Linked DNA regions of Homo sapiens: all the other regions are linked to region 1. Evidence: promoter capture Hi-C in human tissues and cell types (Jung and others, 2019). All regions are on one chromosome and are shown on one strand. The core of a region is centred on a gene start or on the middle of the fragment in contact, and the rest is flanking DNA. Distances in the headings are between cores, read along the strand shown.

Evidence for each region. The method cuts DNA at HindIII sites, captures the fragments that hold promoters and counts their contacts. A contact is called where the count stands out against the background at its distance.
Region 2: a contact is called between a fragment that was not itself captured here and the fragment with the promoter of TEX14 in region 1, in 2 of the 25 tissues and cell types used here (hippocampus and spleen).
Region 3: a contact is called between a fragment that was not itself captured here and the fragment with the promoter of TEX14 in region 1, in 10 of the 25 tissues and cell types used here (H1 embryonic stem cells, IMR-90 fibroblasts, aorta and 7 more).
Region 4: a contact is called between a fragment that was not itself captured here and the fragment with the promoter of TEX14 in region 1, in 1 of the 25 tissues and cell types used here (psoas muscle).

What each region holds. Positions count from the first base shown.
Region 1 is chr17:58,689,601-58,693,314 of GRCh38, forward strand. TEX14 (testis expressed 14, intercellular bridge forming factor) reads right to left here and starts at 2,445. Exons shown (of 32, transcript NM_031272.5): 1 at 2,339-2,445. It overlaps IGBP1C (IGBP1 family member C), which reads right to left and starts at 2,445. Exons shown (of 2, transcript NM_001395966.1): 1 at 2,339-2,445. RAD51C (RAD51 paralog C) reads left to right here and starts at 3,002. Exons shown (of 9, transcript NM_058216.3): 1 at 3,002-3,188. The coding sequence starts at 3,044. RefSeq lists enhancers at 2,760-2,859, 3,190-3,359. The HindIII fragment of the contact is 12,262 bases long and covers 1-3,714 here.
Region 2 is chr17:58,903,230-58,906,943 of GRCh38, forward strand. All of the region lies in intron 1 of PPM1E (protein phosphatase, Mg2+/Mn2+ dependent 1E), which reads left to right. Among named protein-coding and RNA genes, the nearest start is that of PPM1E, 150 kb to the left of the region's middle. The HindIII fragment of the contact is 5,961 bases long and covers 1-3,714 here.
Region 3 is chr17:58,529,476-58,533,189 of GRCh38, forward strand. All of the region lies in intron 3 of SEPTIN4 (septin 4), which reads right to left. The region is part of intron 2 of SEPTIN4-AS1 (SEPTIN4 antisense RNA 1); the gene reads left to right. Among named protein-coding and RNA genes, the nearest start is that of SEPTIN4-AS1, 11 kb to the left of the region's middle. RefSeq lists an enhancer at 1,739-2,239 and a silencer at 2,337-2,786. The HindIII fragment of the contact is 6,319 bases long and covers 1-3,714 here.
Region 4 is chr17:58,820,535-58,824,248 of GRCh38, forward strand. All of the region lies in intron 1 of PPM1E (protein phosphatase, Mg2+/Mn2+ dependent 1E), which reads left to right. Among named protein-coding and RNA genes, the nearest start is that of PPM1E, 67 kb to the left of the region's middle. The HindIII fragment of the contact is 4,168 bases long and covers 1-3,714 here.

The DNA of each region.
Region 1 (3,714 bases), core at 1,195-3,694:
AATATAAACCATTTCAAATGACTTAGGTAAATCATTTAACTCTTCCCTCCCTGAAAGATTTTTTTTGAGAAAAGTGATTACACAAGAAGGTGCACCTTCCATATTTATCCCATAGCTTTGTTTAGTTCCTAGTGCGTGGTTTCAAAAACCTGGATCCCAGTTTGAAAGCATGACTACAGAGCAAATTGCATTAAAGACATCTTAAGAATGATGATGAAAATAATTATTATAGGCAAGGGCCAGAAGATTTTTTTTTTTTTTTTTTCTGAGATGGAGTCTCGCTCTGTCGCCCAGGCTGGAATGTGGTGGCGTGATCTAGGCTCACTGCAAGCTCCGCCTCCTGGGTTCATGCAATTCTCCTGCCTCAGCCTCCCGAGTAGCTGGGACTACAGGCGCCCACCACCGCACCCAGCTAATTTTTTGTATTTTTAGTAGAGACGGGGTTTCATCATGTTAGCCAGGATGGTCTCGATCTCCTGACCTTGTGATCTGCAGAAGATATTAATAGCACTTAAATTATACAGCTATAGATAGAGTTGAGTGGGGGTTTTTTTGTTTTTTTTATTTTGCTTTGTTTTGTTTTTGAGATGGAGTCTCGCTCTGTCGCCCAGATTGGAGTGGAGTTACGCAATCTCAGCTCACTGCAACCTCAACCTCCCGGGCTCAATTGGTTCTCCCACCTCAGCCTCCCAAGTAGCTGGGACTAGAGGCATGTACCACCATGCTGGCTAATTTTTGTATTTTTTGTAGAGATGGGGTTTTGCCCTGTTGCCCAGGCTGGTCTCAAACTCCTGAGATCAAGCGATGTGCCCTCTTTGGCCTCCCAAAGTGCTTGGATTCCAGGCTTAAGCCACTGTGCCAGGCCAAAGTAGTTTTGAACTTTCCACTGTCAACGAAAGAAATTCTAAACACGACTGATTCCACTGAGTTTGACCAAACTAACTGAAGACTTATTGTTGAATGTGGTAATACCATGTTTTTTCTTCACCCAAGAATCTGGGTGCTTTATAAGCATAAGCATGAAATCTCCCTGAAGATAGTATTTATGCATCCACTGAGCGCTCAAATATAGACCATATTAGAAGTTAAGCAATGGGTTGAGTGGCCAACCACATTTTGGCCAGTCCTACAAGACTTTCTTTGACCTACCAAATGGGGTATAAATGCTTCTCGTATTCTCCCCGCCAGTAGGGACTCAAAATCTTAATAGCTCGGGGTAGTAAAAAGGATGCTAGGTTTGAATCTTGGCTTTAAGAAAACTGTGCTGAGGTGTTTTGTTTGTTTGAGACAGGGTTTCACTCTATCACCCAAGCTGGAGTGCAGTGGCGTGATCATAGCTCACTCCCAGGCTGAAGGGATCCTCCCACCACAGACTTCTGAGTAGCTGGGACGACCGGTGCATGCCACCATGCCCGGCTAATTTTTTGTACTTTTGGTACAGACAGTGTTTCGCCATGTTGTCGAGGCTGGTCTCAAACTCATGAGCTCAAAGAGATCCACCTGCCTCGACCTCCCAAAGTGCTGGGATTACAGGCACGAGCCACTGCGCCCGGCCAGCTTTTTTTCTTTTATCAGAATTGATATTAAACTATATGCTGAGCTTCCATGTCCTTATCTTCCTTTTGGCATGGCTATGGCCATTTGAAATGTGTGGGATTTGCTAAAGTGCTCAACATACGTTGTTTCCTTTTTTAGATCTAAGTATGTAGAGGGCTCTGATTTGCAATATTTAGAAAGTTCTTCTAAGCTGGGAAGAAAAGTCAAGACTAAGAATCATTGCCAACAGGGCCGGGCGCGGTGGCTCACGCCTGTACTCCCAGCATTTTGGGAGGCCGAGGCAGGCGGATCACGAGGTCAGGAGTTCGAGACCAGCCTGGCCAATATGGTGAAACCCCTTCTCTAATAATAATACAAAAATTAGCCGGGCATGGTGGCGTGCGCCTGTAATCCCAGGTACTCAAGAGGCTGAGGCAGGAGACTCACTTGAACCCGGGAGGCGAAGGTTGCAGTGAGCCGACATCGTGCCACTGCACTCCATCATGGGCAACACAGTGAGACTCTGTCTCAAAAAAAAAAAAAAAAAAATCGCCAATAGGTAGGGAATAAGTTACCCCCTGCTAAATAAGTTACACTCACCTAGGCAAGGAAGGAACTCATAAACCACCTTCTAAACTGCTTGCCTTCCTCCCCGAAGTTCTGTAATTTAGAGGCGGTCACTACCACTGCTTGAACACCCCTTCCCAAGTCTGTACCACAAAAGGAGCTCTTGTGTAGCCCAGCCCCTCCTTCTCAGGACCCCAGGAGCCCAGACACACTAATGGGGACATTAGTTGCTTACTTTTCCAGCTACTGCTTAAGCTAGGCAGGCCATGAAGAAATAACGGTCTCAGTAACCTCCATGCTCGGGATACGACTCCCGGGAAGACGTGGGTGGGTGCGGGGAATGCGGACTGATCCCTCCCAGCGGCCGTTGGGGGCTGGCCCACAATCCCTCGCGAGGGCGGGAAAAGCAATGTGGTCGTTGCGGGGGGGGGGGGTCAGAAAAGGGGGACGGTCAGCGGGAAGAGCCAAGAGACTGCAACTCTACAAAGAGCACGCAGATTAATTCTAATGATTGTTCCCTGAGCTTTTCACACCAAAATAATGGTAACTGGCTAGTGTGTGCCCGTTACGCTCACTACTCCCACTCGAGATCATTCCTATTAATGACTCTGAGGCTTCACCTAACAGGCCACGGTGGAGGCAAGGAAATGTGGCGTGGAGAACCCACTGGGCCTGGCTCTCCGTCCTATGGTCTCCGTCCATCGTTTTACAGTCAGGGTGTACATTTGATGAGGAATCTCTAAATGGGATTTTGGGGAATCAAAACGGAATGGTGCATAAGTGTGAAAATTTACAAGACTGCGCAAAGCTGCAAGGCCCGGAGCCCCGTGCGGCCAGGCCGCAGAGCCGGCCCCTTCCGCTTTACGTCTGACGTCACGCCGCACGCCCCAGCGAGGGCGTGCGGAGTTTGGCTGCTCCGGGGTTAGCAGGTGAGCCTGCGATGCGCGGGAAGACGTTCCGCTTTGAAATGCAGCGGGATTTGGTGAGTTTCCCGCTGTCTCCAGCGGTGCGGGTGAAGCTGGTGTCTGCGGGGTTCCAGACTGCTGAGGAACTCCTAGAGGTGAAACCCTCCGAGCTTAGCAAAGGTAACGACTCCTGATGGCAAGCTGAGGCACACCGGCCGCCGTCAGCGCCGCCTCAGTCTTCGTTCTCTCGCCTCGGCCTTCAGCCCAGTCTCCGTTAGATTCTGCTTCCTCCCACGTCCATGTTTACAGCGTGAAAGAGCTCCTCGACTCCACTTACAAGTTGTCTGAATGGTTAGGAGAACTGTGGTCGTGAAAACATTTACTAATTGCTTTTCCTCTGGCAATGCCTGCTGAATGCTTTGAGGATTGTCTCATTTAACCCTCAACCCGCTTACGTAGATTATTATATTCAGTATATGGATGAGAGAACTGATATCTTGGGGAGCTTAGGTAACTTTTCATGCTAACTGGGTTAGGAAATACTGGAGTCAGAATTGGTTGTCTAATTTTTGCTGTTCCAAGATCCAAGGGGTAAGGGTTAAATTTCAGAAATGCAGGATTTTGTGTAGGACTAGAGACACTAAGAATGAGAAAGAGAGTAGAATCCCCGGAATCTTGAGGAAGCATAGAAAGAATATTCTCTTAC
Region 2 (3,714 bases), core at 313-2,812, 210 kb after region 1:
CCCCCAGTAACTACAGTCCAGCCTCCCAAGGTACTCCATCCAGCCATTCTTCTTTGAGGTCTTGCCATTTCCTTGGAGAACAGCCAGGAAGTAGGATTCAGGTCACAACTATCCCTGGTGTTGCTGAACATTTTTCCAATTTGGGCAAGCTGGGTTTAGCAGGCTATTTCCCAGTCTCCCTTACAGTTCTCAAAGCTTTTGCCTTTATCTCAAGCTTCCAGAAAATGAAAGTTTGAAGGCAGATTATCTACAAATAACTTCTGCTTTCCAGTCTGTAACTCAGATCTTCTGTAAATAATGGAACCTGAAGACCTGGTTACCTGTTTAAATGAGGAAAGGGAAAAAGAAGTGGAGAACAAATGAAAATTAAAATCTTATATTGTCCTGCCACACTGACATGCACACCCACAGACATAAACGTACCACTTTTCTGCCTAATCCCAGCTTCTGGGTTGTTCAGTTTTTATTGAGTTCTTAGAAGGAAGAGGGCCTAGAAAATTATAGATTAATCTGTATTTGTGAATAATTGAGAACTCACTAATAAAATGGGCACCTTGGATATTATGTTTACTTCTTGTTGTAAAAAACAGAGTAAAGCTTTGTTACCTAGGGTTCTCCCCTCTTCCCCTGCCAATTATTAGAAAAGTAATCTAATATTTTCCAAATAAATATATAATTGTGGAGGACTTTCAATAGACACTAAAGAATAGCAAAGTAACGCAGATCTATAATGAAACCAGATCTGATAGTGTTATTACTTTTACTTGAATTTGAAATAATTTCAAAAAGAGCCAGAAATTATTATTGAGATCTATACTATTCTGAAAGCTGAGATAGAGAAGAAAGTTGAATACATGTCCACTACCCTCTTGCAGATAGTGAAAAATGTGTGAATAAATTTATAATTATGACATAATAAATAAAAAAGGTACTATGAAAGTATAGAAGTTGAAGAAAAGAAGTTGAAGTCTTTCTTATATAATATTTTGCTTAGCAGGGTTGGCATGTACTATCATCTTTATTTGCCAGATGAAGAAATTTGAGTTGAAAGAGGTTAAGTATCTTGCTCAGTTACACAGAATAAGTGGTATAGTAGTACATTCTTAATGTATAAGTGATCAGAGGCTGGGGAAATGATTTCTAACAAGGGTAATAATTTTTATAATACTGCCTGATATTTTTACACTTTGAATCTGATTTATAAGATTGTCTTTCTACCTACTTGATTCTGCAAAGAATTTGAAAGTTCTTCTCATAGGCGAATGACTATCCTTGTCTTAAATTATCTGCTTATCTAGAAGATATCTGCAAAATAACTTGCTGGGATTTTGGTTGGGGTTGTGTTGAATTTATAGATCAAATGGGAATAACTGGCATCTTGACAATATTGAGTCTCCCAATCCATGAATATGAAATATTTCTCCATTAATTTAGTTCTTTGATTTCTTTCAACAGAGTTTTGTAGTTTTCCTTATATTAGATCTCATACATATTTTGTTAGATTTATACCTACATGTTTCATTTTGGGGGGTGCTAATGTAAATGGTGTTGTAGTTTTAATTTCACATTCCCCACTTATTCATTGCTGGTGACCAACATGGAGAAACCCCATCTCTACTAAAAATACAAAAAAAAAAAAAAAAATCAGCCGGATGTGGTGGTGTATGCCTGTAATCCCAGCTACTTGGGGAGGCTGAGGCAGGAGAATCGCTTGAACCCAGAAGGCGGAGGTTTTGGTGAGCCGAGGTCGTGCCATTGCACTCCAGCCTGGGCAACAAGAGTGAAACTCCATCTCAAAAAACAAACAAACAAACAACAAAAAACAACAAACAATTTCTCCTATAGTTTTGTATAATTCCTTGTTGGTTCTAGGGGTTTTTTGACTCTTTCAGATTTTCTACATAGTTATGTTAGTTTTCTACATGTTACAGTTTTATTTCTTCCTTCCTAATCAGTATACCTTTTAATTCTTTTTCTTGTCTTATTGCATTAACTAGGACTTCAAGTACAATGTTGAAAAAGAGTAGTGAGAGGGAACATCCTTGCCTTGTTCCTGATCTTAGTAGGAAAGCTTCTAGTTGTTTACCATTAAGTGTGAAGCTAGCTGTAAGTCTTTTATAGATATTCTTTATTAAGTTAAAGAAGTTGCCCTCTATTTCTGGTTAACTGAGAGTTTTTATCATTAATGCGTGTTGAATTTTATCAAGTGCTTTTTCTGCATCTTTTGATATGATCATGTAATTTTTCTTTTTTAGCCTTTTGATATGATAGATTACATTAATTGATTTTTAATGATCATCAGATGCATCAATTTTGCATATCTGAGATAAATCCCACTTTTTTGTAATGTATAAATCTTTTTATACATTGTTGGATTTGGTTTGCTAATATTTAGATGAAGATTATTGCCCCTTTGTTCCTGAAGATATTGGTCTGTAGTTTTTTTTTCTTGTAACATCTTTGTTGGGCATTAAAGTAATGGTAGTCTCATAGAATGAGTTAAGTTAGCCACTGCACCCAGCCTATTTCCCTTTTTTAATTTTTAATTTTTGTGGGTTAATAGGTGCACTAATTAATTAATAGGTGTATTAATTTTTATTAATAGAATGAGTAATGGTAGTCTCAGAGAATGACTTCTATCTTCTGAAAGAGACTGTAGAGAAATAGTATAATTTATGCCTTAAATATTTGGTAGAATTCTCCAGTGAACCTATCTGGTTTTGGTGCTTTGTATTTTGAAAGGTTATTAATTATTGATTCAATTTCTGTAATCAATTTAGACCTATTCAGATAGTTTAATTCTTGGCAGATTGAGTCTTGCAAGGAATTGATTCATTTCATCTAAGTTATCAAATTTGTATCAATTAATTTGTATCAAATTAAAAATCAATTAATGTAATGCATAGAGTTCTTCATAGTATTACTTTTATTATCCTTTCAATGTCCATGGGATCTATAGTGATGTCCCATCTTTCATTCCTGACATTAGTAACTTGCATCCTCTCCTTTTTTCTTAGTTAGCCTGGCTAGAGGCTTATCGATTTTATTGACTCTTTCAAAGAACCAGCTTTTAGTTCCATTGATTTTCTCTATTGATTTCCTATTTTCAATTTCATTGATTTCTGCTCTAATTTTTATTATTTCCTTCACCCAGGCTGGAGTGCAGTGGCACTGCCAGGGCTCACTGCAGCTTCAATCTCCCAGGCTCAAGTGATCCTCCCACCTCAACCTCCCGAGTACCTGGGACTACAGGCGTGTGCCACCTGTCCAGCTAATTTTTGTATTTTTTGTATAGACAGGGTTTTGCCATGTTGGCCACTCTGGTCTTAAACTCCTGGGCTCAAGTGATCTGTCCACCTCAGCCTCTCAAAGTGCTGGGATTACAGGTATGAGCCACTGTGCCCAACCCATTTCCCTTTTTTAATTTTTAATTTTTATGGGTACATAGTAGGTATATTAATTTTTATTATTTATTTCCTTCTGCTTTCTTTGGATTTAATTTGCTCTTCTTTTTCCAGTTTCCTAATGTGGAAACTTAAATTATTTATTTTAAATTTTTTTTCTAATATATGCACTTAATGTTACCAATTTCCCTTTAAGCACTGCTTTCACTGTATTCCACAGATTTTAATAAGCTGTGCTTTCATTTTCATTTAGTTCAAAATATTTTAAATTTCTCTTGAAAATTTTTCTTTGATTCATGTGTTATTTAGA
Region 3 (3,714 bases), core at 816-3,315, 160 kb before region 1:
CATGACGCCTGCCTGCTGCCTACCCTGGTGGGCACAGCACCAACCTCCCAATGTCTGTTTGCAGCCAGGCTTTTGATCCATTTGACCTCTCCTGTTAACCCCCAAGGACACTGTGGCCTGTATGAGGACTATGAGCTATCCCCAAGTGACCTGGCCCATCAGCACATGAGGACAGCCACCTAGGATACCCATTCCCAAAGGATTTCAATCCCCCAGTCTCTCTTTCACCTTAACTTTAAGCAGTGCTGGAGTAGGTGAGATGTCCTATACTCCCCCATATAGGTTTTTGTGGGAATGGTCCCACACTTCTTCCCAAGTGTTCATTTGTTTTTTTTTTTTTTTCCTGTGAGGAACGTCACTGTTTCAGAAATCTGCTCCTAAATTTCCCTGCAGGGAGCATCAGCCACAGAGAAGACTTTGCTCCAGGGACTCCCCTTACCCTAGGACACCTGACCTCTGACTTATAGCAACCTGTATCAATTAGATCACTCCATGGCTTCCATAGTGTCAACAGGGGAGCTGTTAGCACTTGGTCTCTGAGGAGCACGGGTTCAAGGCAATGGGAGGCTGGCAGCCCAGAAGCTTCAGAGCTGCCATTTAGGTGGGAGATAAATTAAGGGGCCTGGTTGGAAGTGTGCACTCAACTAGGGGTCAGGGGTCCACTGTTTCTGGTTGGGTGGAAACATCTTTTGTGAGTCTGGATAGTGTCTTAATTTGAGGACCTTAATGTTCAGTTGTGAATGGCCCTTCCTTGCCTCCCAGCGAGGCTGGGGAGAGAAAGCACTCCCAGATGATAGATACCTTAAGCTGCTTTGAACCTGAGAAGAGAAGGTGCATCCCAAGTCACAGGATGGTCATTAATGTTGGCCTGTCATTCTTTTCACATGTAAATTTAAACCCCCTGGCATAGCTGGGTTGGGGGGGTCTCCCCCACTGATTCCCAAAGCAGCTAGGACACTGACCTCCTTTGACAAAGAGACCCTCATAGAGGAGTCTGATCTGAACCAGTCAGCCTAAGAACTTGGCTGGCTTGAGGGCAGGGGCCTGAGGATGGGGACTTTGGTGATGGTGGTTGGGGTGGAGGGGGGTGTGTCTTTAATTAGAGAAGAACAGTGTGGCCTCGGACAAGCCGAAAGCACCAAGACCTCAGCTGAACTGAAGTTAGTGTGTGGCAGAAAAAGCCCCTCTAGCCCCTGCTGGGCTTGGCACTGGGGACAATCAGTGCTTCCCTAGGCTTCCATCCCTAGAACAATCAGTCCATCCATCCACCATGTGGGGAGAAGTGGGGGAAAGGAATAAGGACAGGCCTCTCTCAGGAACCCCCGTTGGGGGAAGGTCACAGGGTCACCAAGACTTCCTGGCCAAGGCTTGGGCCTCTGCCTGGACACAGCTTGAGAGACAAGAGCCCAAAAGGTTGGCCCTACCAAACCTGAAAGCTTCTGATCCCAGGGGGCCCAGGGAGCTCCCTTCTGGAGGCTGCCCACAGCCAACATCCCGCCCCACAGGCTGGTCAGTGATCCCCCCCTGCTGTAAACAGTTTGTGTCCCCCAATGCAGAGGGCAAAGGCTGTGGGGCTTCCAGACTGAGAGGAGAGGACGGTGTGTGGCCTAGAGGTCCTGACACCCTTACGTTATTTGTGGCAGGCTCTGGCAACAATGTCAGGAGAAGAGATTACATCTTCAGAGCCAAGCATCAAAAACTTCCTACCTGGGCACCTCCAGGGAGGCTGGCTGGGGTTACTGTTTCTCTTCCCACTACAGGCAGGTGGCAGGGATGGGTGCCCCCACCCCCACACACTGCAGAGGGACCTGGCTGGTGGGGAGGGAGCGGGTAGATGCAGCAGGAGGAAGCTTTCCCATGGTTCCTGTCCCAGGGGCAGAAGGATATAGCTAATCCCACCGGGCAGGATGGTGGGCTGGGCCTCCCCCTCTCTGGGGTCCCTTTGGGAAAGGGCCAGGGACTGCCCCTTGTCAGGCTGAGGGAAGGAGGGGCCAAGCGTCTTACCATCCCTCCTGGTGAGGCAGGCAGTGTTTGTGGGCCTCCTCTGCGTTTTCCAAATGAAGTTGGTACTGGCCCCTGTGCCCAGGGTAGGTGGGTGAGGAGGGGTTACTCAGGTAAAAGCTGACCCAGGCGAGGATGGGGACCCTCACCTCCGCTTATTACTGATGCGCCTTCCCCAGCCCAACAAGCGCGTCTCCACCAGCGGGCACCTCCCTCAGCACGGACCCACCCCTTCGTCCTAGAGCGCAGGCATCACCCAGGGGTTGGCGCCCACTCCGTGGCTGCTCAGAGGGAAAAACTTGGGAGCAGCGACGCACCGCCGCCCGGCAGCAGTGCCAGCCTGTGCCCGGGGCCGGCGACGGCGCCTCCCACCCTGCACAGCCGCGGCTGCGGTGCCGCGGGTCCCCTTGCAGCCGCCCGGGAGCGACCGGCCCTGCGCACCCCAGCCCTGCCCCGCGCCCGCCCGCCTGCCTGCCTGCCTTACCATGGCTGCAGCCCGGGCGGGGCCGGCTCCGCCTGGACAGCGCCCGAGCGACCCGCGGCGGAGCTGCGCGCCGACCTCGCAGCACCGCCGTCACCCTCCCGCCTCCCCGAGTGCGGACCGCTGCGGGAGGGGCCCGGCGGCGGGGGCGGAGCGAGTCGGCCCCGGGGCGGGGCCTGTACCTCAGCTGCTAGCGGTGCCGGCGCGAAGTGGGTCGGGGTGCCCAGCTGGGGGCCGGCCTCGCAGCCCGCGACCCCCGGATGCGCAGAGTATGCAGAGTCACCCAGGACAGAGCGGGGAGCCTCAGCTCCTCGTCCCCGGGCTGCACTGGACACCTGGCTCTTTTTTACTCAGCTCCAGAAGCACCGCGGGGGCTTGAGCCAGTTCCCAAAGAAAAAGGAACGGCCCACCTGACATCCCCAGAAGGAGACGCCTTTGGAAGGGAGGGGGAGTTGCTGCATGAGTTGGAGAGAAACCATTAGTTACCGCAGGGATTCAACAAGGTTTTCACAAAGTGAATCCGGCTGATGCCCAAGTTACTGATCACTACACCTCCTAAAGGGGAATGTCAGATATTCTCCACCTCCACCCGAGCTGTGAAGGGGCAGGTTAGAGGCAGGTTCCCTTCATGCAGTACCCCAGATTACAGATTAAAGAGGATTTGCTGCACAAATTATCCAGGGATCATCTGCTGGAAGGATAGAAGGGAGAGGCTGAGTGGCTTTAACAGGGCGGTGTAGCCTTGCCTGTGGCTGAGGACAGTGGGGAGGGCCTCAGGAGAGGCCAACCCAGGCGTGACCCAGGCCCAGCTGGGCCACTCTTCCTCTGACAAGCAGGTGAGATGCCGAGGGGACAGATGCCCCAGAAGCTTTAGAGGCATTAGAGGCTCAGAAAGGTCAGAGCAGCAGCTAGGGGAAGGCAGATGCTTGGTGAGTGGGGTGTTGGTGAGGGATTCCCTGAGCTAAGTAGGGTCTGAGCTGGTCAGGCTCCTGTGGAAGTTTCCAGAAGCATGTCCCTTCCTGACCCGCAAGACCCCTCTCTCAATGGCAGGCTGACTGGCTTCTGCCTGAATACACTCTGGACAAAACTGAGACCCACAGGCACGGCCCTCTCTGTTGGTAGAAGTGCCAGAGGCCTGCCTGCTGTATTTCAGTCTGACCTGTGAACCAGTAGCACTGGTTGGGACCAGTCAGAACTCAGCCAGGGGAGGGAAGAGGGCCTGGGGCAGCAGG
Region 4 (3,714 bases), core at 605-3,104, 130 kb after region 1:
TGTAAAAGACGTGGTTGAAGTCCTAAAGGAGTGTGCTTATTGGACCTACAAATAGGAGATATGTGTATAAATGACTTTAAAACACTGACAGACTATATGAATAAGTTAAAATGAATAAGGTAGAGACTGAATATACATCAATGACTATTATTTCATTATAGGGTCCAAATGGTGCTAGAAGCTCAACAAAATTATTGTCCATGTGCTGTTATCTTATTTAGATATACAAACAATTTAAAATAAATGTATTTAAATTATATCATAAATAAAATAAATTACTTGTGGGAGTGAGTCATAATTAATGATTATAGTAGCAATGGTCCTACTAATTTTAGACAAACAGATTGCTGTGCTATATGAACAACTAACTATGAAGACTAAATAGATACCAAATTCTGTTATAATAAAGTAAAACATAACTTGATCTGAAACATTTAATCATGGGCTTAATTCCAATTATAATGTATGATGTTTAAAGTATAAGTGATAAGTTGTTCACATAAGTGATTATTATTATATATAATTAATATTATAAACCTTCAGCTTAGCTTTGTATTTTTGTTTGTTTGTTTGTTTGTTTGTTTTTGGTTTTTGGAGATGGAGTCTCGCTTTGTCACCCAGGCTGGAGTGCAGTGGTGCAATCTTGGCTCACTGCAAGCTCTGCCTCCCGGGTTCACGCCATTCTCCTGCCTCAGCCTCCTGAGTAGCTGGGACTACAGGCGCCCGCCAACACGCCTGGCTAATTTTTTGTATTTTTAGTAGAGACGGGGTTTCACCGTGTTAGCCAGGATGGTCTCGATCTCCTGACCTTCTGATCCGCCCGTCTCGGCCTCCCAAAGTGCTGGGATTACAGGCGTGAGCCACCGCGCCCGGCCAGCTTTGTATTTTTCTAATTATCTGGAGAGGAGATAGGAGTTTACTAGAAAAAGAAGAAAGTTTTTTCATTTCAATATGAAGATTCCTACATTCAAGCCCCTTTTCCAATAGGCGCCACTCAGAGATCAGAATAATGACACATTCTTTGGTATAGATACACACACTCTGGGTGTTTAAGTTAGCTTACGGCAGGGCAGGAACTTGCCCGATATAATAGAAAGAATTCCTTTGATTGAGAAGCGGATACTGGTTAGCAAGGACCTTGGAAAACTAGTAGAAGAGATGGAAATAGAGTAATAACCGAAGTCTTCTTTAACAATGAAGAAACTTATTTTGAGACTCCAGGGGTTGGAGAAAGGGTTTTCCTGGGCTTTAGAACTCCATTGTTATTTGGTAAAGGCTGGGAGGGGAGTGGGCTGAAAGTATGAAAACTGTCCTTTCCCAAATTTCTCCCCCATCTTGTCTAAAATGACCAATTATTCAACGCTTATGCAGCTTTTAGTATAAACTAGTTTAGTCAACTAGCTTTTCTAATAACTAACTGAGATATATCAAGGTAATGAGATTTTGAAAGGCGATCAAGGAAAAAGCAAAATATCGTTTTAAAGCATAAGTTGTTGATGAACACAAAGCTTTAAGTGGGAGCTGGCAGCTTCAGGAAGGAATCTGGCAGGAAGAAGACCAAGATAGCCCAGAGAGTGATGAGGATTACTAAAACAAGAGATGGAAAGAAGAATGTAGTAAAGGAGTTGAGCAAGTAACAACAGCAAAAAAAGTGAAAAGAGACCAAAGAAAAGGAGGCACTGAAGCATAGCATTGAATGAAGTACATATGCAACTAGGAGCAAGCATTATAAAATATGAGCAGCAGTGTGGGTTGTTTACTTAGAAGTAAAGTTGCTAAGTCTGAATTTATTTTTATTTATTTATTTATTTATTTATTTATTTATTTATTTATTTATTTATTTTTTGACGAGTCCCAAGTATCTTTCTCCAAAACAAGAGGGAATACCAGCTGACTTCTGATTCTGTTATAGGTTAAGCTGATAATTATGGTTAGAACCTCTAGGTGTTTGCTATATTGTTAGCTAGTAGGAAGAATGTTGGAAGATTGGAGCCAGTTTCAATTGCCCATCTGTTCTGGTCTTATACTAGGATTAAGTGTTTACTAAAAATAGAACGGGGTAACATTGCCAAACGTGTAGCCCATAGGCATTTGTAAACTTGCTCTCTTATTAAGATAATTCATGCTTTAAACACTGGTTGGCCATGAATTGAAGATGTAAAGATGAGGATTTAATAGGTAGTTTTTTTCTGGAATAGATGATATGCTTTTTTTCTGTGGGGAAATTCTAATTACAACAAGCATAGGTTTAAGCCTCTGGCTGATAATTAAAGTTATGCTATCAGTCAGGTCTTACCGTACTGCCAGTACTTGCTGTTGGAGAGAGAATAGATTGTAATAGATTCTGTTGTTCAGGGTCTGTGACAACTGAAGCCTGCCAAAGTCAGTTGCGCCATTCTCTCCTCTTTGTCATATGTAAGTGAGGCAGCAAAGTATTGTGAAAAAAATATGTCAAGAGAGCTGACTTATACGATGATTATTGCTCTTCTTGTTTGACCTGGGGCAAGCCCTTCTGAGCATTTTTTTTTTAATTTTCAAAATGAAAATAATACCTATTTTATCCAAGTGGAAGCATTATTGTAGAGTCAGACATTATAGTGTATGTAAGCACTTTTTAAACTATAAAGACAACGTATAAAAATGAGGTTTTCATTTCTATCACCTAAGAATTGTTTCTAGTTTAAGAGAGGCTGAAATGGTCATATTTCTGTCATGTAGGCATTTCTCATAAATTTTTCAAGGAATGGAATGGGCAGGAAAGGAACTATGAAAGTAATGGAAAAGAATCATGTGGGTATTTGCATGAAAGACAGACTTACTTGAAATTCTAGGCACAGGAATGGTTTCTCAGGATTGTGATAACGCTGTTCTCTGAAAGATTTAGGTGAAAAGGCAAAGACCTTATTTATGATTAGATATGTTTTATATCAAAATATGACAGTAATGAATATAGGAGAATGAATCTTATGCATCTATAGTTACTCTTTGAAAATAACATTGCTGGCTGCTATCTGAATCACCTGTTGTTCAGTTATTTTTTTTCCCTTAGGAAATTGTGTTTTGTATATTTTTAAATTATTGTAAAATGTCTGCAAAATTAATCTGCACCACAGGAAAGATAAAAAATAAAGAAAAACATCTGCAAAATTAAGCATTGATTAGATTAAATATGGACGAGGTGCAGAATTTAAATTTATTTATTTATTTATTTTTTGAGACAGAGTCTTGCTCTGTTGCCCAGGCTGGAGTGCAGTGGCTCGATCTCAGCTCACTGCAAGCTCTGCCTCCCAGGTTCACACCATTCTCCTGCCTCAGCCTCCCGAGTAGCTGGAACTACAGGTACCCGCCACCACACCCGGCTAATTTTTTGTATTTTTAGTAGAGACAGGGTTTCACCACGTTAGCCAGGATGATCTCAATCTCCTGACCTCGTGATCTGCCTGCCTCAGCCTCCCAAAGTGCTGGAATTACAGGTGTGAGGCACCGTGCCCGGCCTGCAAAATTTAAATTTAATACAAATTTAATGGACTATCCCCAAATATATGGATGTGTAGAATATTATATATGTTTTTAAAACATGAGTTAGAGAAAGGGTTGGAGAAAGGGTTTGAAAGGAGATGAGCACAAAGATGAATATCTCCAATTCAAGGTAGAAAATGTACATAACAATTATCAGTCAATACATTTATTTATATATAATTTAAAACTTTTTTT